Regions from separate parts of the Homo sapiens genome. Here regions 1, 3, 4, 5, 6 and 7 are each linked to region 2. Evidence: promoter capture Hi-C in 16 types of primary human blood cells and fetal thymus (Javierre and others, 2016). All regions are on one chromosome and are shown on one strand. Each heading gives the region's core, a stretch centred on a gene start or on the middle of the fragment in contact. The rest is flanking DNA. Distances are from core to core; before and after follow the strand shown.

Region 1 (3,043 bases), core at 384-2,883, 500 kb after region 2:
TTAGTCCATTTGTGCTGTCATAACAAGACACCTTAGACTGGGTCACTTATAAACAACAAAAATGTATTGCTCCTAGTTCTGGAAGCTGGAAAGTCCCAGATCAAGGCACCAGCATATGTGATGGCTGATGAGGGCCTGTTCCGCTCAGATGCTGCCTTCCTGCCACATCCTCATGTGGCAGAGAGAGAAAATCAGCTCCCCCAGGCCTCTTGTAAAAGGGCACTAATCCCATTCATGATGGCTCTCCCGTCATGACCTAGTCACCTCCTAAAGGCCCCTCTTCTTATTTTTTATTTATTTATTTTTTTGAGATGGAGTCTCGATTTATTGCCCAGGCTGGGGTGCAATGGCATGATCTCGGTTCACTGCAACGTCTGCCTCCCGGGTTCAAGCAATTCTTCTGCCTCAGCCTCCTGAGTAGCTGGGATTACAGGCACGTGCCACCACGCCTGGCTAATAGTTTTGTATTTTCAGTAGAGACAGGGTTTCACCATGTTGGTCAGGCTGGTCTTGAACTCCTGACCTCAGGTGACCCGCCCGCCTCGGCCTCCCAAAGTGCTGGGATTACAGGCGTGAGCCACCGCACCCGGCCATTGTTTTAAAGACCCCTCTTCTTAATGCCACCACAGTGCAGATTAGGTTTCAGTATGAATCTTGGAGGGATACAAACTCAGACCGCAGCAAGCAGGGTTTTTTTTCTTTCTTTCTCTCTCAAATTCTTGGAAGGTTGAGCAGGGCAGGGTCACCAGGCCTGCCGGCAACTGCTCCCCTTCCTCTCATCCTCCTGTAGCTTCTTGGACTCCTGGGCCAATTGATTTTTCTGTTCCGTGATGTGGAGTGATCAAAGCTGGTTCTGGGTTTTCTGGAGCTGGATCTTTGATTGCCTTTGATTTAAAAGCATTGGTAACCGTTTCTCACGGGAAAGAGGCGCTGATAATTCATGCAAATGAGCATCAATGGGCAAAATTCAACCAAGTGCCTCTGGAACCAAGGCTGCCATTGAACATTCTAGTAAAAATGGGGTGGAGGCTTTTGCCCAAGTGCTCTGGATAATCTGGGAAAAGAAAATGGTGAGTCAGTGCTTTATTTTATTTATTTATTTATTTATTTATTTGTTTGTTTTTGAGGCGGAGTCTTGCTCTGTCACCCAGGCTGGAGTGCAGTGGTGCGATCTCGGCTCACTGCCACCTCTGCCTCCTGGGTTCAAACGATTCTCCTACCTCAGCCACCCAAGCAGCTGGGATTACAGGCACATGCCACGATGCCTGGCTATTTTTTGTATTTTTCTGGTAGAGACAGGGTTTCACCATGTTGGCCAGGCTGGTCTCGAGCTCCTGACCTCAAGTGATCTGCCTGCCTCGGCCTCCCAAAGTGCTGGGATTACAGGTGTGAATCACCGTGCCCAGCCGAATTTTTTTTTTCTTTTTTTTTCTTTTTAGATGGAGTCTCTGTCACCCAGGCTGGAGTACGGTGGCACGATGTTGGTTCACTGCAACGTCCGCCTCCTGGGTTCAAGCGATTCTTCTGCCTCAGCCTCCCGAGTAGCTGGGATTACAGGCACGTGCCACCATGCCCAGCTAATTTTTTTAGTAGAGACGGGGTTTGGGGTTTCACCATGTGAGCCAGGATGGTCTCGATCTCCTGACCTCATGATCCCCCCGCCTCGGCCTCCCAAAATGCTGGGATTACAGGCATGAGCCACCGTGCACGGCCTTTTTTTTTTTTTTTTTTTAAATAGAGGCAAGGTTCACCATGTTGCCCAGCCTTGTCTCCAACAAGCTCAAGGGATTCACCTCCTCACAGACAGTGCTCCCACAGGCGTGAGCCACCACGCCCCACCTTATTTATTTTTATGTATCTTAACTTCCAAGGTGGATTTATTTAAAGGTTTTACAATAACTATGTCCAGGCTTTAGGCTCATGGGAAGTAAATGAGGACACCTTTTTCCCAAGAAGAATTTCTTTAAAACCAAGCACATTGCTAAATAACAACATTATATTTGGCAAACAATAATTGGCAACAAAATAAGTTTATTATTCTGCCCAAGCCAGTCCCAGATGCTGTTTCTTAACCAAGATACAAACAAATTTTGCTGTAGCAAGTCTAGACCAATTTTATCAAACATGTCTTTGGTTAGATGTCTAGTTTCATTTAACGTTTTGAAAACTCATTTGACAGCCAGTCAAGTCCCTCATCTACACCAGCTCCGTGTTGCACAAGTGGCTTGAACATACCATGTCCTGTTAGGAAGAGACTGAAGAGCTGGCTGGCTCATCTGTCGTCACACTGATGGCCCGAGCGCTGGGCAAACCCTGTTTGTTTGCAGAGAGCAGTGGCGCTGCGTCTCCACACTCACCGGCCAGAAGCCTTTTCTGCAGCGCGTCCGCCACTTCCCGAATTCTTTCATGATCGTTGCTATCTACCAGCAAAAGAAAACCCTGGGTATTCTGGAAGTAATGCTTCCAGAGAAGCCTAATTACATCTTGACCATGAACATCCCACACCATGAAACAAGTGTTCTCTTTTTGAGTCAGAGTCTCGCTCTGTCATCCAGGCTGGAGTGCAATGGCGCAATCTCAGCTCACTACAACTTCCACCTCCCGGGTTCAAGCAATTCTCCTGCCTCGGCCTCCCGAGTAGCTGGGATTACAGGAGCCCACCACTATGCCTGGCTAATTTTTGTATATTTAGTAGAGACAGGGTTCCACCATATTGGCCAGGCTGGTCTTGAACTCCTGACCTTGTGATCTGCCTGCCTCGGCCTCCCAAAGTGCTGGGATTATAGGCATGAGCTACCGTGCCTGGCCCAAAACAAGTGTTCTTATATTCTACTCTTTCCATGTTAAAACCAATGGCAGGAACTGTGGTGAGTACCTCCCCTAACTTCAGTTTATACACAATGTATAGGCAGCATCCAATCGAACCGTCCAAATGTGCATCTGCTTCTTGCTGAAGAGGCGGGAGAAGAGAGAGGAGATGGCGGGGACCATGGGTTCGTGGCACTTGTGATGGGCAGAAGCAGAGGGGCTTGGGGGGCCCTGT
Region 2 (3,092 bases), core at 229-2,728:
TAAGGAGAGAACGGTGAGCCCAGAAGCCTGGGGAGGCTCCTTCCCCCTCCACCAGGGCCAAGGGGGTGGGGCAGGCAGAGGGGGCGGGCCCAGCCCAGGCTCCTCCATTCATCCCCATAACGTCTTGCTCCAGGGCCCTCTGCCCCCACCCAGCAAATCTCCAGCTACTCGCCCCTGCCCCAGCCTCTCCTTCCGGGAAGGCAGAGGTACCAGGGAGGAGACAGCTCAGGTTACACAGGCCCTCAGGGCCCCTAGACTCTCCCTAAGGTGGGGCTGAGGTGGGGAATGGGCCTAGAGCGGCCGGTTGGGAGCCGTTGGAGCTGACTTTGCTGCTCCTCACCCAAGGCTGACCCCAGGCCCAACCTAAGTCTACAGGGCCCCAAGAGCCTTGGTTTTCAGGTGAGGTGTCCATGCATGGAGTCCACCAACAGAACCCGCCTACAGGTTTAAGGCTTGTTGGGGAGGGGACATGCACCCCAGGGGGTCTTCAGGGCCTGAACCCACATCTCCCAGGGAGACTGAAGCCCCCGGACCCTACCACCTGCTGGGCAGAGATGCTGCCCCTCCTGGGAGCCACGTGTTCCCAGCCCCAGTCAAAACTTCGCAGCTGGCCCTCCCCTACTTTGGAGGTCTCCTCGAGTCCCTAGACTCCTCCGAGAGGGGCTAGTGGGAGCCTCAGGTGGCTGGCCCCTCCCACCCCATCCAGAGGCCAACAGGTTCCAGCCTGTCCCGGGTAGGGCGGAGCTGCGCCCCCTCCCCACCGGCAGCAGGCGGCGGAGGCCAAGTCCCGCCCTCCCCGGGATCCCGGACTTGGGGCCGCCAGGGACTGGGCCCGGCCCCCCTCCCGCCCCGGTCACCGCAGTCGAACTGGACCGGCGCCCAGCCGCCCCCGGGTCCATGCCGGGGACTTTAATTCCGCCTTCCCGGAGGGACGCGAAGTTTCCCGGCCGAGACGGAGCGGCCGGGTCGGGGTGCCTTCTTGGGCCCCCAAAATGCGGAACCAGAGAGTCCGCACCTGGACTCGCCCCGGGCCACGGCGCTCCCCCTGGGGTCGGGCCGGTGTTCCGGGTCCGAGTGCCCCGGGAGGAAGCCCCACGGCCCGCCCCTGCGCTCACCCGGATGGTCTGGTTGGGGTCGCCGCCGGCCACGGGGCCCCCTACCAGCTTGCAGTAAAGGTCCTCGGTGGGGCGCGGGGAGCCGCGCGCCGGGGCCTCCTCTCCGCAGGTCGCGGAGGCGGCGATGCGGGCGCCCTCGGCCAGGTTGAAGTAGGGCGGGTGCAGGCTGAAGCCGCCGCCCGCCTCCTCCCGCGCCCGCGCCGCGCCCAGCAGCGCCAGCCCGACCAGCAGCAGCGGCGCGGGGCCCCGGGGGCCGCGAACACACAGTGCGCTCCCCGCGCAGAGCCGCTTCGCCATCTTCCCGGCTCCGGGCCGCGTCCCCGAGCTCCAGGGACAGCGCGCGCGGCGGGAGCCCGGCGGGTCTGAAGCCAGGCGGCCGGCAGGGCTCGCTCCGCCCGCGGACGTCAGGCCCCGCCCCGGCCCGCCCGAGCGCCCGAGCCCCGAGCCCCGGGGAGAGGTCCGGGGAGGCGGGGTGGGGGGGGGAAGGAGAGAGGAGGGGGAGGGGCGGCCGGGCGGCCTTAACCCTTCGGACCCCGGCCCGGCCGCCTCCCGGAAGGGGCACCTGCTGGCCTCGGGCCAGGCCGTGGGACGACGGCGCCGCCGGGCCCCCAGCCCAGGTCGTAGCTCCGGGTCCCGGGTGGGACCCTAGCGCTCCCCACGACGCCCTGGCCCCCAGAGCGCCCACCAGCTCCTCCCAGCCCAGGGGCCCACTCTTTGTTCCCCTAACTTGGGTGCACCACTCGGCTGCCCCCGCTCCTCCCCCAACAGCGTCCGTCCTGCTGGCTGCGGGAAGGTGCCCTCTGCACCCGCGAATGACCATCTGCAGAGGAACGGGGCAGCCTAGGTGGGAACCCCCTGCTTCCTGGGGCAGCCAGGTCAGGTTCAACTCGGCCTGGCTCCCGCCTGCCCCAGCAGGGCTTAAAAATACTCTCAGATAGGGAAATAGGGGCAGGAGGGACTGGCCTGCAGCTGCAGCCCCCTTTAGAGGACGGGGGCGGTGCTCATGGCCCCACAGCCGCCAAATTGGCTCTTAAGGAGGTCGGGGGCTCTGGTCACAGCTGCTGAGCACCTGCTGGGTGCCTGGAAGCACCTGTGCTCCGGGGCCCGGTGGACTCCACCAGCTCTCTCGGCCTGGCCTCCAACCCGCTGCACAGCCGCGCACGCGTTCCTGCCACGATCGGCGGCTCGAGGACGCCTGGCAAACAGCACAGGACCTAGAGGCCGAGATCAGGTCTTCGTCTGCCTTTGGGTGGCTGCGGCCCTGGGTCTCCTACTTCCCTTGGGCTCCGGGGCCAAATCTGCCTCCAGGGAAGCCCCGAGGGGGTGGCGGCGGGGTGGGGCTGCAGCTGCCGAGCTGGCAGCAAACCCCCATCCCTGAGCCAGGCCAGCTGGGCGGGCCATGGTCCCAGATGGGCTGTGGGGCTCATCTCTCGCTGGGTTCCCTGGACAGTCCCGGGGGGCTGGGTGGGTTTGTGGGGCACTGGCCAGCCGGTTCTGGTGGGGGTTCTGAGCTAGCAGCTGTCCCTGGAGGGTGCACCTCCTTGCACACCTTCCTGGCGCCCTGGCCTCCTGCAAATCTCAAATCCCAAGAGGGTGTATGGCCCTTTCTCTACGGAGTCGGGAGGGCGATGGGACCCTCTCTCCCTCCTCCTACTTTCCGGCCCGGCAATTCTTCCATAACTTCACTATTAGTTCTCCCACCTGGGGGAGGGGGGAGAGGAGGCGGCTCCCCTTGGCAGGAGAAGCTCCAAGTGGGGGAGGGGCTGGCTGGAGAGGGGGCGGAGACATCAAGGAATCTGCAGTCCAGGCGCAGAGTCCGGCTCTGAGCTGCTTTAGATCCCGTGTGAGGCAGAGAGTGGCCTCTGGGCAGTAGCGGGTCCCCAGGTGGGGGCTTGGCCCCAGGCAGTGTGCTCTGGCTCTGGGCTCCCCCTTGACAGCTTGGGGCTCTGACAGCCTGGGGGACTGGAGGTGGAGACT
Region 3 (3,121 bases), core at 156-2,655, 430 kb after region 2:
TCTGAGGCAGTAGAATCGCTTGAACCCAAGAGGCAGAGGTTGCAGTGAGGCGAGATCGTGCCATTGCACCCCAGCCCGGGCAACAGAGCGAGACTCTGCCTCAAAAACAAACAAAAAAGAAGCCGGTCCCCATCCGCAGTGACTCGCGTTTCCCTCCCCCTCCCCCGTCCCCGGCAACCGTGCATCTACTTTCTATTCCTATGGAGTTGCCAGTTCTGGCTCTTCCTGTGAATGGATTCCCATGCTGTGTATTTTCGTGTCTGAATTCTCTGACTTTCGTCTCAGCCCGCACCCACGCTGCCGCAGTCCGCGCTCGCTGCTTTTAGGCTGAACGCGGCTGCGCCGTGCGGGTGCCCGCGCTCCGGGCGCCCCTCGCAGGTTCAGCCCCGGGTTGGGGGCGGCGCTTGCCTCGCGGCTGCGGGTCCCAGCCTGAACCTGTGTCTTGTTCCACTGCCGCGGGCGCCCGCCACGGAGCTGCTGCTTCCTAGGGAGACGGTTCCATCGTTGAAGGAACGGCCAGACTGTCTTTCGCAGCAGCGGCCCATCTGACCGCACAGCACGACCGCACGAGGGTCCCGAGCCCTGACCCTCGCAGCACTCGTCACCCCGGCCGCGTGGTTGTGGCGGTCTCGGCGGGGCAGGGGGTCCCCACGCGGGCTGATTCTAGTTTCGCGTGACCGATGGTGCTCATTAGCCATATCTGTACATCTTTTTTTTTTTTTCGAGTCGGAGTTTCGCTCTTGTTGCCCAGGCTGGATTGCAATGGCGCGATCTCGGCTCACTGCCTCCCGGGTTCAAGCGATTCTCCTGCCTCAGCCTCCCGAGTAACTGGGATTACAGGCGCCCGCCACTACGCCCGGCTACTTTTTTTGTATTTTTAGTAGAGACGGGGTTATACGATGTTGGCCAGGCTTGTCTCGAACTCCTGACCTCAGGTGATCCGCCCGCCTCGGCCCCCCAAAGTGCTGGGATTACAGGCGTGAGCCACCGCGCCCGGCCCATCTGTACATCTTCTTTGGAAAAATGTGTATCCAAATCCTTAGCCGTTTTATAGTTAGATTGTCTTTTTATTATCGAGTTATAAGAATTATTTATACCTTCTACAAGGAAGTTCATTATCAGATATAGGATTTGCAAATATTTTCTCTCATCTGTGGGTCGTCTTTTCACTTTTCTGATGGTTTCCTTTGAAGCACAGACTTTTTTGTTTGGGTGCAGTGTATTTCTTACTGTGCTTTAAAGAGGAACACGTTTTAAGAACCCCCGCGCGGGGCGGAGCAGGGCGGAGTCCCCGGCGGGAAGGGACCCGAGACCTCGGCTGCGCCTGCGCCGACGCCGGCGCGTGAGCCCGAGCGCGTACCCGGCGGAGCGCGCGCCCGCCCCCGAGTGCGCCTGCGCGGAGCTCGTGGCCGCGCCTGCTCCCGCCGGGGGCTCCTTGCTCGGCCGGGCCGCGGCCATGGGAGAGGCCGAGGTGGGCGGCGGGGGCGCCGCAGGCGACAAGGGCCCGGGGGAGGCGGCCACCAGCCCGGCGGAGGAGACAGTGGTGTGGAGCCCCGAGGTGGAGGTGTGCCTCTTCCACGCCATGCTGGGCCACAAGCCCGTCGGTGAGCGCCCAGGCTGCGGACGCGCGTGGGGGCGGGGCGGGCAACCGGCGGGGCGGGGCGGGGCCTGCGCTCGCGACACCCTCGCCCCCACGCTCCCCGCCGAGCCCGGGCCGTGACACCGCCGCCACACCCGTCCCGGGACCCCCGCCCCCTCCCACGCGCCCTTCGGACCCCGCCCCGGACCCCGCCCACGACCCCTACCCCCGTGAGACCGCGAGGTCCCAGCCCGCAGTGCCCCACCCCCACCCCCGCCCCGGGACAGCCCACCCCCTCCCACACACACCACCCAGCCCTGCCCCCCCACAGCCCCTCCACACCCTGGCCCTCCCCATCTCTCCGCAGCCACCCTTGCCCCTCCAGTCCCCAGGGCAGCCCGTCCCCTCCATCCCCTTTCTCCTCACCGCTCACCGGTTATCCCGCCGCCCCTCCTCCCCTCAGGTGTGAACCGACACTTCCACATGATTTGTATTCGGGACAAGTTCAGCCAGAACATCGGGCGGCAGGTCCCATCCAAGGTCATCTGGGACCATCTGAGCACCATGTACGACATGCAGGCGCTGGTGAGCCCAACCGCCCTCCCTGTGCCGCCCGATGGGGGCACGAACCCGCACACCGCTCTCTGAGAGTCAGCCTGAGCTGGGCAGAGGCCCCTCCATGTCTGCTGGGGTCTGCTGGGCAGAGTAGAGGCCCCTCCATGCCTGCTGGGGTCTGCAGTGAGCTCTCAGGGTCAGCCTGAGCTGGGCAGAGGCCCCTCCGTGCCTGCTGGGGTCCCCTGGGCAGAGACCCCTGCAGTGAGGCTCGTCCTTAAGGAGGACATCCCGGGGCTCCAGAGCCTGTCATGGAAAGCACAAACACAGTGCTAGCAGCTGGCTAGCTTTTCAGGGGCTCTGCTTTAGACTGGGTGCTGGGCCAGAGTCTCCAGCTGAGACCCTGGGGAGGGAGGGAAGGATGCAGAGTCCCGGGCCCTTAGGCCATTGTCAGCCTCCTGGGAGGCCCCCGAAGTGCTTTAGGCAGAGGGTGACCCTATCTGAGTCACACCAAGGTGAATTTGGTGACTTCTGTGGGAGTCAGACAAGTAGAGTTCCAGTCCTCGCAGAGCTTGGAGCTGGCACTGTGTGACGGGCGAGCGGGTTAACTAGGTAAGCAGGGTGGCCAGAAGAGACAGGTGGGTGTTCCAGGCCCTGTGGCAGCAGGAGGTGGTGGGTCCAGGAGCTCAAAGAAGGTGGTGTACTTGGAGAGTGGGGTGGGGGTCAGGGGTCAGGTGACCAGGAGGAGTGGGGACCTGTGCTGGTGGAGAGTCTGTGCCAGCCACGTTGGACTCAGGGCCACACCGGCCATCAGTATGACATAGGTCTCTCCCTCTGGTCTGTGCGACCTCAGGAGGGCAGTGCCTGGCAAGCACTCTCTTCTTCTTTGCCTGGTTCTGTGCCTGTGGCGCTCCCAACCGACACCCTCGGTGTCCATGGGCTCCTGCCACGTGGATGAGAACTCGAGGTGCCTGCGGCCTTTCCCCAGGG
Region 4 (3,115 bases), core at 227-2,726, 300 kb before region 2:
CGCTGCTGGGAGCCGCCCTTCCCTCCCGCCCCGTGCGGCCACTCACCTGGGGGCAGCTGGAAGTTCTGGATGTTGGTCGGGTTCTGAGGCGGCTGCGGCAAGCGGGGGGCCAGCACGGTGGGCGTCAGGGTGGCCCGAATCCCGCTGGTGGTGGCCGTGGGCGTCCGGGACAGGCTCTGGGTCACTGCGCCGGCCGCGCCTTTGGGCAGCCCGGTGGGGGTCCCGGGGGCGGGCGGCGGGACGGCGGCCGGGCTGGGCAGCGCCCCTTGCATAGTTGGCCCGATGACCATGCTGGCCGCCGTGCTGGCCGGGCCGCTGGCCGCCAGGGTCTGCGCCGCCGGGGGCGCCGCCTGCACCACCCTCTTGGGCGACTCGGCCTTGACCCCCGGCGCCGGCGCCGCAGCCGCCGCGCCGGGCCCGGGTTGGCCGCTGACCCCCGCGGGGCCCCCGGCGGCCGGGGCGGGGGCGGGGGCTGCCCCGGCGCTGCCCCCGTTCTGGGCGGCGGCGGGGGGCGGCACGGCGGGCGCGGCGGTCGGGGGTCCGGCGGGGTGGCCGGGCGGCCGGGCCAGAGTGGCGGGCGCGGGGGGTGGCGGGGGCGGGGCGGCGGCGGGGGCGGCGGGCGCGGGGGCGGCGGGGGGCGAGGGCGCGGCGGGCGCGGGGGGCGCGGCGGCGCCCACGAAGGGGGGCGTCTGGATGACAGTGCCGGGGGCGGCGGGCTTGGGCAGCGGCAGCAGCGCGGCGGGCCCGTTGTTGACCAGGCTGACAGCAGGTGCGGCGGCGTGGTGCGAGTTCAGCAGCGCGGCGCTCCCATTCAAAGTTTGCGCGGCGCCGGGGCCGGCGGGCTTGCCAGGGCCAGGGCCGGGGCCGGGGCCGGGGCCGGGCCCGGGGCCGGGGCCGGCGCGGGCGGCCAGCGCGGCGGGGCCGGCGGGCTTGGCGGGGCCGGCGGGGGCGGGCTCGGGCCCCGCGGCGACGGCGGCGGCGGCGGGCACCGGGGCGCAGGACCCCGCGCTGCCCTCGGGCGGCGGCCTCAGCTTCGCGGCGGGCGGCGCGGGCCCTGCGGGGACAAGGGGGCGGCGCGGTGAGGGGGGGCCCGGGCGCTGCGGCCCCCCGCCCCCCGGCCGCGCTCTACCTGCGGGGGGCGGCTCCGGCGCCGCTCCGGGCGCGCCCTCGGCGGGGGCGGCCGGCCCTGCGCCCGCGGCTCCGGCCGGGCTGCCGCTCACAACATGGTTCCCGAGCGCGCCGGCGGCCGCGGCCCGCACCTCGGGCGTGCGCGGCGCGAGGTGGTGGTGGTGGGCCGCGCTGGCCGCCAGCTGCGACTCCAGCGAGCCCACCAGGTCGCTCACCACTTTCTCGTCCACCTCGCTGTTGAAGAAGACCTCGTCCAGCAGATCCGAGCCCGCCGCCATCTTTTTTCCTCGGCCGCCGCCGCCGCCGCCGCTCGGGCCGAGCGCGCCTGGGCGAGGAGGAGGTTCCGACTGGGGCGGGCGCTGGGCGGGCGGGGGGCGGCGCGCGGCCGGCGGGGGGCGGGGGCGCGCGGCCGGGGGGCGGGGGAGCGGGGGTGGCGGCCCTGCGCAGGCGCGGAGACCGCGGGCGCCCGGCGATTGGCTGCGGCGCGCGCTTAAAAGGCGCGGCCAATGGCTGCGAGCGCTAGAGGCCGGGGCGCGGGCGGTCGGCCGGGGTGCGGCAGCAGCGGCGGGAAGCGCGGGGGCTGGAGCTCAGGGGCGCGGGCGCCGGGGCGGTGGCGGACGGGGAGGGGGCCGCCGGGCGGGGCGCGGGATGCGGGAACGGTGCGCTGGGCCGGGCCGAGGCGGGCGCGGGGCGGCGACGGGGCCTCGCTCTTTGTCTCGGCTCGCTCCAAAATGGCTGCGGCGGCGCTGACGGGAGCGCCGGGCGGGCGCCGTGCGCGGTGGCAGCGGCGGCGCAGGGCCCGTCCGAGGCCCGGGGAACAGCGCGCGGGGATGCCGGGGCGCCGCCGGGCGGCGCGCAGGCCCTGGAGTGGATGGGCCTGGGAGGCGGGCGGGAACGGGGAGGGGACTGTCGCAGCGCGCCCTGGGGACGGGGACCGGCGCCCGGCCCCTCCAAGCCGCCGCGGGGAAGCTGGGTCCGCCTCTGGCTCAGCCGGTCCCGGGCGGTGGGGAGGGGTCCTGCGCGCACGGCTCTTCTCGCCCTCCAATCGTGACCACCCCTGGCCCTTCCCTCCATTTTTAATCAATAAACCCAGCCGCCCCGGGCTGACTGTCCCCGCACCCAGCTGCCTTGGAGACAGGAGTGTCGTATAAGCCCGTAGGTAAGAGCACGGTGCTTGCCAGGCGCCAAACGAAGTTCCCGAGCCTGAAGCCGGCACGTCTGGAAGTAGCTTTTTTTACCTTCTGCTGGGGGAGGGGAGTAAGTTACCTAAAGTGTTCCCAAGCACCTTCTCTCTAGAAATACTTCAGTAAAAGTTCCAGTCCCCTCTTTCTGCGTGTTTTATTTTCCAACCAAAAGATGGTGTTATTGGACATTTCTAGTGGTTTTCCTTTCTCTCATTTCTTCCTAAGAGCCCAGAATAGGTTTCAGAGAGACGCTTCCTTGCCTCGGACCTCACTGGGGCCAAGAGGCCACAGGGTCAGTCTTCGCAGCTGAAGACAGCGCCGCAATAAGCAGAGACCTCGGGACGATGAATGACGTTGCTGACAAAGAAAATGATTTTTTTAATTGCTTTAACAAAGGAGACTGCTAGTCTCGAAAGCAGACCCGAACTGGACCCTTGTGCCTGTTCGAACTGTAGCCTTGCAAAGGAATGGACTTACTGATAACTGGAATACGGGACTTCACCCCAGGCTTGTTTCTCGACAGCAGCAGCAGCCAATGAGCATTGAGGACGGAGCCTAGGAGAGGTGCCTCCCCTATAGGGGAACAGTGTTTGGGGGAAATCACTGCAAACGTACAGCTGGAGTTTTGTACCTGAACTTTGGCTCCCAGAAGGCAGGAAAGGAAATGAATGAAGCAAGCTGAGTATGGCGGGGAGGGCCCCTGTGGGTACACCTACGGAGCACCTTGAGCTCAGTAGGGGGACAGTCTGAGTTTTCCAGAAAGAACAGAAATATAAAGTGATGATTAAATCTCGGGATTTTTA
Region 5 (2,858 bases), core at 298-2,797, 330 kb before region 2:
ATCCACTCACGACAAAAATTCTCACCAAACTAGGAAAAGAAGGTGCATAGACTGAATGCCATCACAATTCATATGCTGAAACCCAATCCCCAAGGTGATGGTAGCAGAAGCGGGGGGACTTTGGGGGCCCAGCCCTCATTAACCGGATTAGCGCCCTTATGAAAGAGCCTGTCCCACAGCTGCCTTGCCCCTTCCTTCCACACTCTGAGGACACACAAGAAGCTGCATGGGAGCAGGCAGCAGGCCCTCACCAGCATGGCAATCTTGCACTTCCCAGGACTGTGAGAAATGAATTTCCGGTGTCTAGAAGCCTCCCAGTCTATGGTATTTTGTTACAGCAGCCAGAATGGCCTATGACAGAAGGGGATTCCTCAACCTAACACAGGGCCTCTATGAAAAACCTGCAGCTGACATCATGTGCGTCATGAGAGAAGACAGACTGCCTCCCCCAAGATCAGAAACAAGGCAAAATGTCCCTTCTCAACGCTTCTGTTTGTCATATTACACTGGAGGTTGTGGCCAGTGCAATGAGACAAGAACAAGAAATAAAAGGTGCACAGACCAGAAAAAAAGACATGAACCACTCTTTACTGCAGATCACGCCTATCTTTGAAGAAAATCCTAAGAAATCCACAGGATATAAAGTCAATTTTTTTTATTTTAATTGCATTTATTGTATGCTGAGTTTATTCCCATGCCACAAGTTTTTGTTTCTTCAGTTTCTTCTGGTACAGTTTTCCTCTGTGCAACTTCCTCACCTGGCTTGGGAACAAGTGTCTTTACCGTGAGGATCGTCTCAATGTGACGGGGCGCCCTGTATGGATGAACCCGACCACCAGCCCTGGAAGTCCCACAGCGCATCCTGGGTGCTCAAACACCAGAGAGCCTACATCTACACCCTCACATTCAGTGTGACTCTCCACATTTTTAATTGTGTGCAGCAAAAATTCAGCGCTCTTTTCGGGTCACCAACCCTGTGTCCAGCCCCACTGTTTGGCCTAGGTACACCTGCCAGCTCCACCCCTGCCAAGTCGGAATGGCATACACTGTTTCTATAAAGGGACGTCTTTCAGACACTTGGTGACTTCTCACGTATGCATACCCTTGATGGCCTGGGCAGTTTCACGAGCGTTCTTAAAGTGATCAAGAAGACCTGAACCTCTGGATTTGCACGATTTTGTGGGGATTTCTGGGTCAAGTGACTAATGAACCATTTTCACAGATCATCTCAGGCCGCTTGGGGAAGAGCTATAAAGTCACTATTTTTAAAAGCAATTTTTTTGTTGTTTTTTTTTTGGTTTTTTGAGACGGAGTCTCACTCTGTCGCCCAGGCTGGAGTGCAGTGGCGCGATCTCGGCTCACAGCAAGCTCCGCCTCCCAGGTTCATGCCATTCTCCTGCCTCAGCCTCCAGGTGGCTGGGACTACAGGAGCCCACCACTACGCCCGGCTAATTTTTTGTATTTTTACTAGAGACAGGGTTTCACAGTGTTAGCCAGGATGGTGTCGATCTCCTGACCTCGTGATCCACCAGCTTCGGCCTCCCAAAGTGCTGGGACTACAGGCGTGTGCCACCATGCCCAGCTAATTTTTTGTATTTTTAGTAGAGACAGGGTTTCACAGTGTTAGCCAGGATGGTCTCAATCTCCTGACCTCATGATCCGCCCGCCTCAGCCTCCCAAAGTGCTAGGATTACAGGTATGAGCCACTGAGCCACCGAGCCACTGACCCACCGCGCCCGGCCAAAAGCAATTGTTTTTCTAAATACTGGCAACAATTGGAAACAAAATTTTTTAAAGGACCACGTACATGGCATAAAATATGAATACTTAAGAATAAATTTAACAAAGTATGTTCAGGATACAAACACTGAGAACTTGAAACAACCCTGAGAAAAATCCTGAAAGGCCTAAATCAATGAAGAGGTACAACACGTTCGTGAATCAGAACACTCGATATTGCTAAGATATCAATGATCATAAAACCGATCTATAGACTCAATACAATCCCAAGCAAGATATCAAGGTATTGGCCAGGCCCAGTGGCTCACACCTGTAATCCCAGCACTTTGAGAGGCTGAGGCAGGCGGATCACCTGAGGTCAGGAATTCAAGACCAGCCTGGCCAACACGGCAAAACCCTATCTCTACTAAAAATACAAAAATTAGCCGGGTGTGGTGGCACGTGCCTGTAATCCCAGCTACTCGGGAGGCTGAGGCAGGAGACTCACTTGAACCCGGGAGTCGGAGCTTGCAGTGAGCCAAGATCGTGCCACTGCACTCCAGGAAAAGATGTGAAAGAGTGAAAAATTCCGTCTCAAAACAAACAAAAAGCTATCAAGGTATCAAGAGGCTTTTTTTGTAGAAGTTGACGAACTGATTCTGAAACACATGAATGCAAACGACCAGAACAGCCCTCAACGTTTTCGAAAAAGCAGCACTGGAGGACTCCTGCCACCCATCAACACTCCCTCTAAATGGGCTGGAAAGTGCTGAGCTGCAGAAGGGAAGACAAGGACATGAGTGGACAGAACACATCCCAGAAGTGACGTCCTCACACGTGGCCGACTGAGTTTCAATAAAGGCAGCAGCATCGTTCAATAGAGAAAGGAAGGTCTCCTCAACACATAAGGCTGGCATGATTGGTAACCACAGAAAAAATGAGTCTCAACCCCCTACCTTACAACTCTCCCAAAATTAACTTGAATTGGGTTGAGTAAGAGCTAAAGCCATAAGCATTCTAGAAAACTCCTGTACCTTGGGTTAGGCAAAAATTTATTTAAGAAGGCACAAGATGAATTCTTAAAATGACTCACTGGATTTATTTAAGAAGGCACAGGACGAATTCTTAAAATGATACAC
Region 6 (2,901 bases), core at 386-2,885, 450 kb after region 2:
CTGTCCCCCAGACCCTGGGCTTGGGGTGGGGCTGGTGCTGGGAGCCCCTAAGGCCCCCTGCTGTCTGGGCTGACCTGCTCCACCCACCTCTCCCCGTAATCAAAAGTCCTCTGTTAGGAAGCTCTGTGCCAGGATGACTTGGACTCCTCAGGAGGGTGGGCCTTTTCAGCTCCTCCCACCTCGCCTGATGGAATTCGCACACACCCCTCCCAGCCCAGCCACCGCGCTCACCCAGCAGTGAAGGGAGAATCTCCCTCCACTCACTTCACCGCGGGAGAGATTAGAGCGACACTATTATTTTGAGACAGGGTCTCACTCTCTTGCCCAGGCAGGAGTGCAGTGGCGCCGTCTTGGCTCACTGCAGCCCCGACCTTACAGGCTCAAGCGATCCTCTTGCCTCAGCCTCCCGTGTAGCGTGGACTACAGGCGAGCACCACCATGCCCAGCCGATGTTTTAATTTTTGGTAGACATGAGGCCTCCCTCTGTCTCCAAGCTGGCCACGCCCGGCCGATGTTTCAATTTTTGGTAGAGATGAGGCCTCCCTCTGTCGCCAGGCTGACTGCGCCCGGCCAGAGTGCGGTGCTCCTGCTGAGCAGTTTTGCGCCCACTCCCCTCTCATCCCCTCCCGCCCTTGCTAACTCACAGCATTGCAACAGTCATGAGTCCCCACCTGCCGAAAGGAAGCTCCTGCAGCCCCCTACAACCCCCAGGGCAGCCTTTCTCGGGAATTTTCAAGATTCCTGGGGGAGGGGCTGGCATCTGCGCCTTCACTGAGCCTACAGGCAACTGGAAGCTTTGAGTCCCCTAGGGCAGCGACTGCCCTGGCAGCCTGAGGCAGAGCTTGGCCGGACCTGGCGACCCCTGAGCTTCTGGGAAATGGACATGGCCAGCACCGCCTTCAGGTTCCTGCCCAGGGCACGGTTCCTTCAGGCCGGGGATCCCGGGGAGGGGTTCTTCCCCTCGGCCAGGGTCATCGTTTTGCGATCTCTCCTGGGAGTCTGGGTTTGGAGTCTGGTCTTAGCCGGTAGCAACTGACGTGGCCTGACCACCCGGCCCGTCCAGGTCCACGGGTGAGGGGCCGCGGTGGGGGTGCTCCCAGCCCAGCAGGCAGCGCTGGACAGTGACCCCGGAGCGGGAACCAGGGCTGCGCTGGGCACTGACCGGGCCCTGGTACCGGGGATTCACCCTCCCCGGGGTGTTCCTGGGCCTTGGGTCGCCTGGGTCCGCTCCGGCGCCTGGGGAGGGGTCTGCGGCTTCGGAAACTCGCGGGTCTCCCCTGCCCCTCCCTGAAGGCGGCCCTTCAGCGCCGCGCGCTTCCGCCCCCACACTCGGGTTGAGGAGCAAGGAGAGAAAAGAGCGTCTTTCTCTCTTGCTCAAAGCTGCGTGTGTGCAACGCGCCAGTCCCAGGATAATTTTAACTCGCGGCCGGAGAGAACGCGCCGCCCGCCCGGCGTCTTTTTTGTTTTCGCCCAGGCGGGCTGGGCGGCGGCGCGGGGCGGGTGGAAGCCCCCCCGCCCAGGTGGGCCCGGCTGAATGGGGGGCTTGTGCAGGCGGGGGCGGGAAGGGGAAGGGGAAGGGGCCGCCCACCTCCCGCCCCGCCCGCCCGCGCGCCGCCCGCCCCGACGCCGCAGCTCAGACTCCGCTCAGCCATGGCCGGGCCGCGCGCGTGCGCCCCGCTCCTGCTCCTGCTCCTGCTCGGGGAGCTTCTGGCGGCCGCCGGGGCGCAGGTGAGCGCGAGCTCCGGGCTCTGAGGCTGGACGTGGAGCCGCGACCGCCCCAGCCCCGAACCCGCCACTCCGGGGTGCCCGGCGCAGCCTCGACGCCCCCAGCCCGTGTCGCCGTCGGGGCGCGGAGTCGCCAGCGCCTCGGGATGAGCCCCGTCCGGCCGCGTCCTCGATGGGTCCTCGCTGGCCCGGGTCGGCCGGCGCCGCCGCCTCCTCTGGGAGCACAAGGGGGCCTTTGTTCCCGCCGCCGGAGGGAGGCGGGGGACACACTGCGCGGGGGCGCCGGGCTCCGCCCGAGGCTTTGGGTCTCACCGAGGAGAGCGGCGGTCGTCGCAGGCCCCGGAGCCGCTCGGGACCCGGGAGGAGGGGACGCCGGGTCAGGCCCACGGGGGCACCTGCGCTCCTTAATGAGTTTTCTCCGTTTCAGAGAGTGGGACTCCCCGGCCCCCCCGGCCCCCCAGGGCCGCCCGGGAAGCCCGGCCAGGACGGCATTGACGTGAGTTTGGGGGTGGGGAGGGCCCCGAGCGCTCTGGGGTTCTGGCTCTGGCCCCCACCTCCCTGAGCTCCCCGGCCTGATGGAGAGAAAACCAGGCCCCACCTCCCAGAGCCGGGGTGACATCAGGGGACAGCCAGTGCCTTCACGGGATGGGGGTGGCCCTGCGGGGACTGCTGGTGGGTAGGGGTGGAGGGTGTCATGTGGTGGTCCTCCACCCAGAATGCCGGCACTGAGGTGTGTGTCTCTGGGTCCCCTGAGGGGCCCGTGCCCCTGTGTTCGGGGTTCTGGCCTCTGGCTGAAGTGGGGAGAGGCACGTCCTTTGGGTGGTTGGGGGCCGGGGGTCTTGTTGGAGGCTGCTGGGCTCTGGAGCCAGCCATGGAGGGGGCTTAGGAGCCGACTCAGTCCTGAGATGATGTCCCCTATGGGTATCTCAGGACTGGTGTGGGCCAAGCAGCAGGAGGAGGCGGCTGAAATTCTACAATTGTGCCTCCCTCGGAGGGACCGTCTGGGGTGAACCTCCCCATGTGACCACCACCAGGGCAGGAGTCCCCTCAGGGCCTGTCCACGCTGTGTGGTCCCCGTGGAGGGCTGTGGAGGGCTGCACCAAGAGCCCCCCATGACCCACCCTCTGCCCCCCTGCCCAGCTCGGCCTCAATGGCCACAGCCTCCTTCCAGTCTGT
Region 7 (3,144 bases), core at 626-3,125, 350 kb after region 2:
AGGCCAGGAGCTCACCAGCCTCCTGCAGTCCTCAAAAACAAACAGCCGAAAAGCACAGGGGCGTGAGGACAGCTCGGCTCCGCCCCCCGGAAAGTGTCCTCCCCGCGTGCGTGGGCTCTCTGCCAGGTACTTGGGATTGGGCACCTGGGGGACATCACTTTGCCTCCCAAAGCACCACCTGCCCAGCCTTGTTGCTCAGAGGCTGCGAGGCAGATTTGGCCAAGTCACGCTACGGCCGGCCACAGGCACTCGTCCAATCGCAGAGGCCTGTGACGTATCAACCGTAGGACAGCGGCCCCACGCCCTGCAGACGCCATGCTGGCCGAGCGTTGCTGAAGGCACCCTTGGAGAACGTAGTTTCCATTTTTCTTTAAAGGGCTCAGCTGCGTGCCTGGGAGCAGCTGATTACAAGGGTGCTCCTCCATCCGATGCTGATGACCTGGGGCTTTCCAGGGCCCCGATGCCAGCTGCTCTGTGTGCTTGAAAAGAACATTCCTCGTAGGAGAGGCCTTGGCTTCCCCTGACCCCTGCCCCGCCATTTGCCATTTTATGAAAGGTTTCCCCGGAATTAGGGGGTTTACGGTCCCCACGTGGGCTTCTGGGCCATTGGCAGATCTGGGCAAACATCCACGGTTTTCAGATGGTGATGTCTGGCTGAAGAGGGGCTGGATACCCTGAGCTAAGTGTCTCCCTCTCAGTGACCATGTTTGGAAGTGTTGGGGCAGTGGCCAATCAAATGGCCCCTCTTTCCAAAACAGGGGTCCTTTCCTGCCCCAGCGTCTCCTACGAAATTTTGGCCTGGGCACTTGCAAACAGAAATTGTGTTTAGAAATGAGGTGGTTCAGTGATAACACTTTGGAGCAACTTACAATAATCCTCCCTGAAGCCAGCTGGGCATTTTCCTAGTGTGTAGCTGGGACTGGGAGTTGATGGTGGAGTGGGCAGGGCTCTCAGGTCAGCAGACAGGACCTGGTGCCCAGGACCCTCCCAAAGGCCCCAGACCTGGCCCTGGTGCCAGCAGGGTGACTGGGAGGAGGAGCTGGGGGCTCAGGGACCTACGGGTGCCCCTGGGTTCCCCTGGACTGTCCTACCCATCCTCTAACCCACCCGCACACGTGGCCCCACACGGGCAGATGGCCCTTGCTTCTTGGATGGTCCCCCATGGCCCAGGCCCAACCTCCAGCTCAGCTTTGACCTCGGCTGTGACAGGGTCCCAGTGGCACACGATCTGTGTGGCAGGGCTCAGGGCTGATGGCCCAGATGGTGGGTCATCAGAGTCCCATGCTTATCTGTCATCTGTCCATGGCGTGTATACTGAACGTGTGCACACATGTGTGTGTCCAGGGGCCCACAGTGGCAGGGGCCTGGGACTTCAGGTGTCCGATTCAAATCAGATGAGGTGGCTGCAGCCTTTGAAACAGTTTTAGAGACCCGCCCCTGACTATGGCCACACACGAAAGCAAACCCTCCCAGCCTCACAGGCACGAGTCCATTAGACCCTCCTGAGCAGCCGTGAGGACTCCTTTCATCATTGCCATTTTCTGCACCAAGGGAGTCCTGCTCCTGCAGGCTCAGCCTCCCTGCCTCCTCCTTGTTTTTTCTGAAAGCCTTCTTCATATTGAGTACAAACAGCAGTGCTCTTCGCTGGGTTAGACCCCAACTCAGAGGGCACCTGCTCCCTCCCAGGGGCAGACAGGGGCCTCAATTTGTGCAGGAGGCGCTGGTGTCCTACAACCCCTGCTCCAGAGGCGTCCAGGAGCAGACAGATCACAGGGCGACTTGGCAAACACCCCAGCCGTTCAGGGCTGGCAGAATTCCGGGAAAGGAGAGGCGGCTGAGACAGGGAAGGAGACAGGTTCCAGTGAAATCTGGCCATGGATTATTTCAGGGCTCCTGTCCCGTGCCCCAGGCTGTGCCCAGCAACCTCCACAGGCAGCATCCTTGTTCTTAGGAAGGATACAGAGGTGTTTAGAGTGTGGAGTCTGCAACTTATTCTCAAATCATTCAGAAAGAAAGGTGTGGCCAAATGGAAGGAGAGCAAGCAGACAGTGAATCAAGGGAGGAGACTGCTTGCGGGTCATGCGGCATTGGGCTGCAGCCCTGCCACAGGCAGCTGAGTGTCCTGGGCATTCTTCCTGCAACTGTTCTGCAGTAGGAACTTTTTCAAGTTAGAAAGTTGCAGAAGGCCGGGCGTGGTGGCTCACACCTGTAATCCCAGCACTTTGGGAGGCTGAGGCAGGCGGATCACCTGAGGTCAGGAGTTCAAGCCCAGCCTGGCCAACATGGCGAAAACCCATCTCTACTAAAAATACAAAAATTAGCTGGGCGTCGTGAAGGATGCCTGTAATCCCAGCTACTTGGGAGGCTGAGGCAGGAGAATCGCTTGAGCTTGGGAGGCGGAGGTTGCAGTGAGCCAAGATCACACCACTGCACTCCAGCCTGGGTGACAACTGTCTCAAAGAAAAAAAAAGTTGCAGAAGAAGTTCTTCAAGGGGTCCTTAGGAACAGCCTGCTCCACTCTGACCTCCCGTGAGGACGGGAAGGGGACCCACGCCACGCAGCTGTGGGCAGCTCTGGCTCTGGCCGTAGCGGCCACAGTGTCCTCACCTGCAGCGCAGGGCATAGAGGGCTGTTGGTGTGGGGCCAAGAGTCACACACTTCCTCCAGTCTGAGCCCATGACCCTTTAGAGGAAAGGAATGGAGTATTTTTCCTGCCTTTTCTATTCAAACGGTACTTTAGAATAACCCAAGAGTAGATAAAAGGCAGTGTCTCAGCCCAGAAATGTTCATCAATAAGTGAAGAAGGAGCAGGATGGTCAGAATACCACCCATCAGGTGCAATCCTCATAAATCAATGGATGTAGGCATGGATTCTTGACAGCTGCTGGGGTCACGAAGGGGAGAGAGTTAGGTGTGAGGTGAGCCCTGGTGTGCACACAGCCTCGTGGCATCCTTGGAGCAAAGCCATTGAATCTGAATCTCATGGAGCCCCTGATCCAACACACAGGACACACCAGGGACAGAGGAACAGGGACAAATGTACCATTAGGATGCAGCCAGCAAAACCCAGACCACAAGAAACAGCTCCAAATAAACAACTCGTTCTGTTCTACAAACAGTGAGGGAATCGGAGACGGTGGCCTG

The links. Contacts are between HindIII fragments. The CHiCAGO score rates a contact against its expected background, and 5 or more counts as called.
Region 1: a contact is called between a fragment that was not itself captured here and the fragment with the promoter of LAMA5 in region 2, in 1 of 17 cell types (neutrophils). The highest score is 5.1, in neutrophils.
Region 3: a contact is called between the fragment with the promoter of MRGBP here and the fragment with the promoter of LAMA5 in region 2, in 5 of 17 cell types (erythroblasts, naive B cells, M0 macrophages and 2 more). The highest score is 7.7, in erythroblasts.
Region 4: the fragment with the promoter of TAF4 here is called in contact with the fragment with the promoter of LAMA5 in region 2 in 1 of 17 cell types (neutrophils); the score reaches 8.8 in neutrophils.
Region 5: a fragment that was not itself captured here is called in contact with the fragment with the promoter of LAMA5 in region 2 in 1 of 17 cell types (neutrophils); the score reaches 6.2 in neutrophils.
Region 6: the fragment with the promoter of COL9A3 here is called in contact with the fragment with the promoter of LAMA5 in region 2 in 1 of 17 cell types (M0 macrophages); the score reaches 5.9 in M0 macrophages.
Region 7: a contact is called between a fragment that was not itself captured here and the fragment with the promoter of LAMA5 in region 2, in 1 of 17 cell types (M1 macrophages). The highest score is 5.0, in M1 macrophages.

What each region holds. Positions count from the first base shown.
Region 1 is chr20:62,870,098-62,873,140 of GRCh38, forward strand. The region is part of intron 1 of LOC105372717 (a long non-coding RNA gene); the gene reads left to right. It also overlaps the pseudogene ARF4P2. Among named protein-coding and RNA genes, the nearest start is that of TCFL5, 9.8 kb to the left of the region's middle. The HindIII fragment of the contact is 6,367 bases long and covers 1-3,043 here.
Region 2 is chr20:62,365,834-62,368,925 of GRCh38, forward strand. LAMA5 (laminin subunit alpha 5) reads right to left here and starts at 1,479. Exons shown (of 80, transcript NM_005560.6): 1 at 1,116-1,479. The coding sequence starts at 1,412. RefSeq lists enhancers at 284-983, 3,082-3,092 and a silencer at 1,163-1,602. The HindIII fragment of the contact is 18,996 bases long and covers 1-3,092 here.
Region 3 is chr20:62,795,068-62,798,188 of GRCh38, forward strand. MRGBP (MRG domain binding protein) reads left to right here and starts at 1,406. Exons shown (of 5, transcript NM_018270.6): 1 at 1,406-1,604; 2 at 2,043-2,164. The coding sequence starts at 1,457. RefSeq lists an enhancer at 3-549 and a silencer at 1,173-1,712. The HindIII fragment of the contact is 13,279 bases long and covers 1-3,121 here.
Region 4 is chr20:62,064,405-62,067,519 of GRCh38, forward strand. It overlaps TAF4 (TATA-box binding protein associated factor 4), which reads right to left and starts at 1,477. Exons shown (of 15, transcript NM_003185.4): 1 at 47-1,477. The coding sequence starts at 1,406. MIR3195 (microRNA 3195) reads left to right here and starts at 398; the gene lies at 398-481. It overlaps LOC105372705 (a long non-coding RNA gene), which reads left to right and starts at 2,050. Exons shown (of 2, transcript XR_936960.3): 1 at 2,050-2,287; 2 at 2,538-3,115. RefSeq lists enhancers at 1-195, 196-709, 710-1,224, 2,253-2,766 and silencers at 1,158-1,247, 1,508-1,617, 1,878-2,257. The HindIII fragment of the contact is 9,555 bases long and covers 1-3,115 here.
Region 5 is chr20:62,036,743-62,039,600 of GRCh38, forward strand. All of the region lies in intron 1 of TAF4 (TATA-box binding protein associated factor 4), which reads right to left. It also overlaps the pseudogene RPL17P48. Among named protein-coding and RNA genes, the nearest start is that of MIR3195, 27 kb to the right of the region's middle. The HindIII fragment of the contact is 5,228 bases long and covers 1-2,858 here.
Region 6 is chr20:62,815,415-62,818,315 of GRCh38, forward strand. It overlaps COL9A3 (collagen type IX alpha 3 chain), which reads left to right and starts at 1,636. Exons shown (of 32, transcript NM_001853.4): 1 at 1,636-1,728; 2 at 2,153-2,221. The coding sequence starts at 1,651. RefSeq lists enhancers at 1-502, 1,191-1,876, 2,565-2,901. The HindIII fragment of the contact is 2,563 bases long and covers 793-2,901 here.
Region 7 is chr20:62,711,634-62,714,777 of GRCh38, forward strand. All of the region lies in intron 1 of NTSR1 (neurotensin receptor 1), which reads left to right. Among named protein-coding and RNA genes, the nearest start is that of NTSR1, 4.4 kb to the left of the region's middle. The HindIII fragment of the contact is 5,011 bases long and covers 1-3,144 here.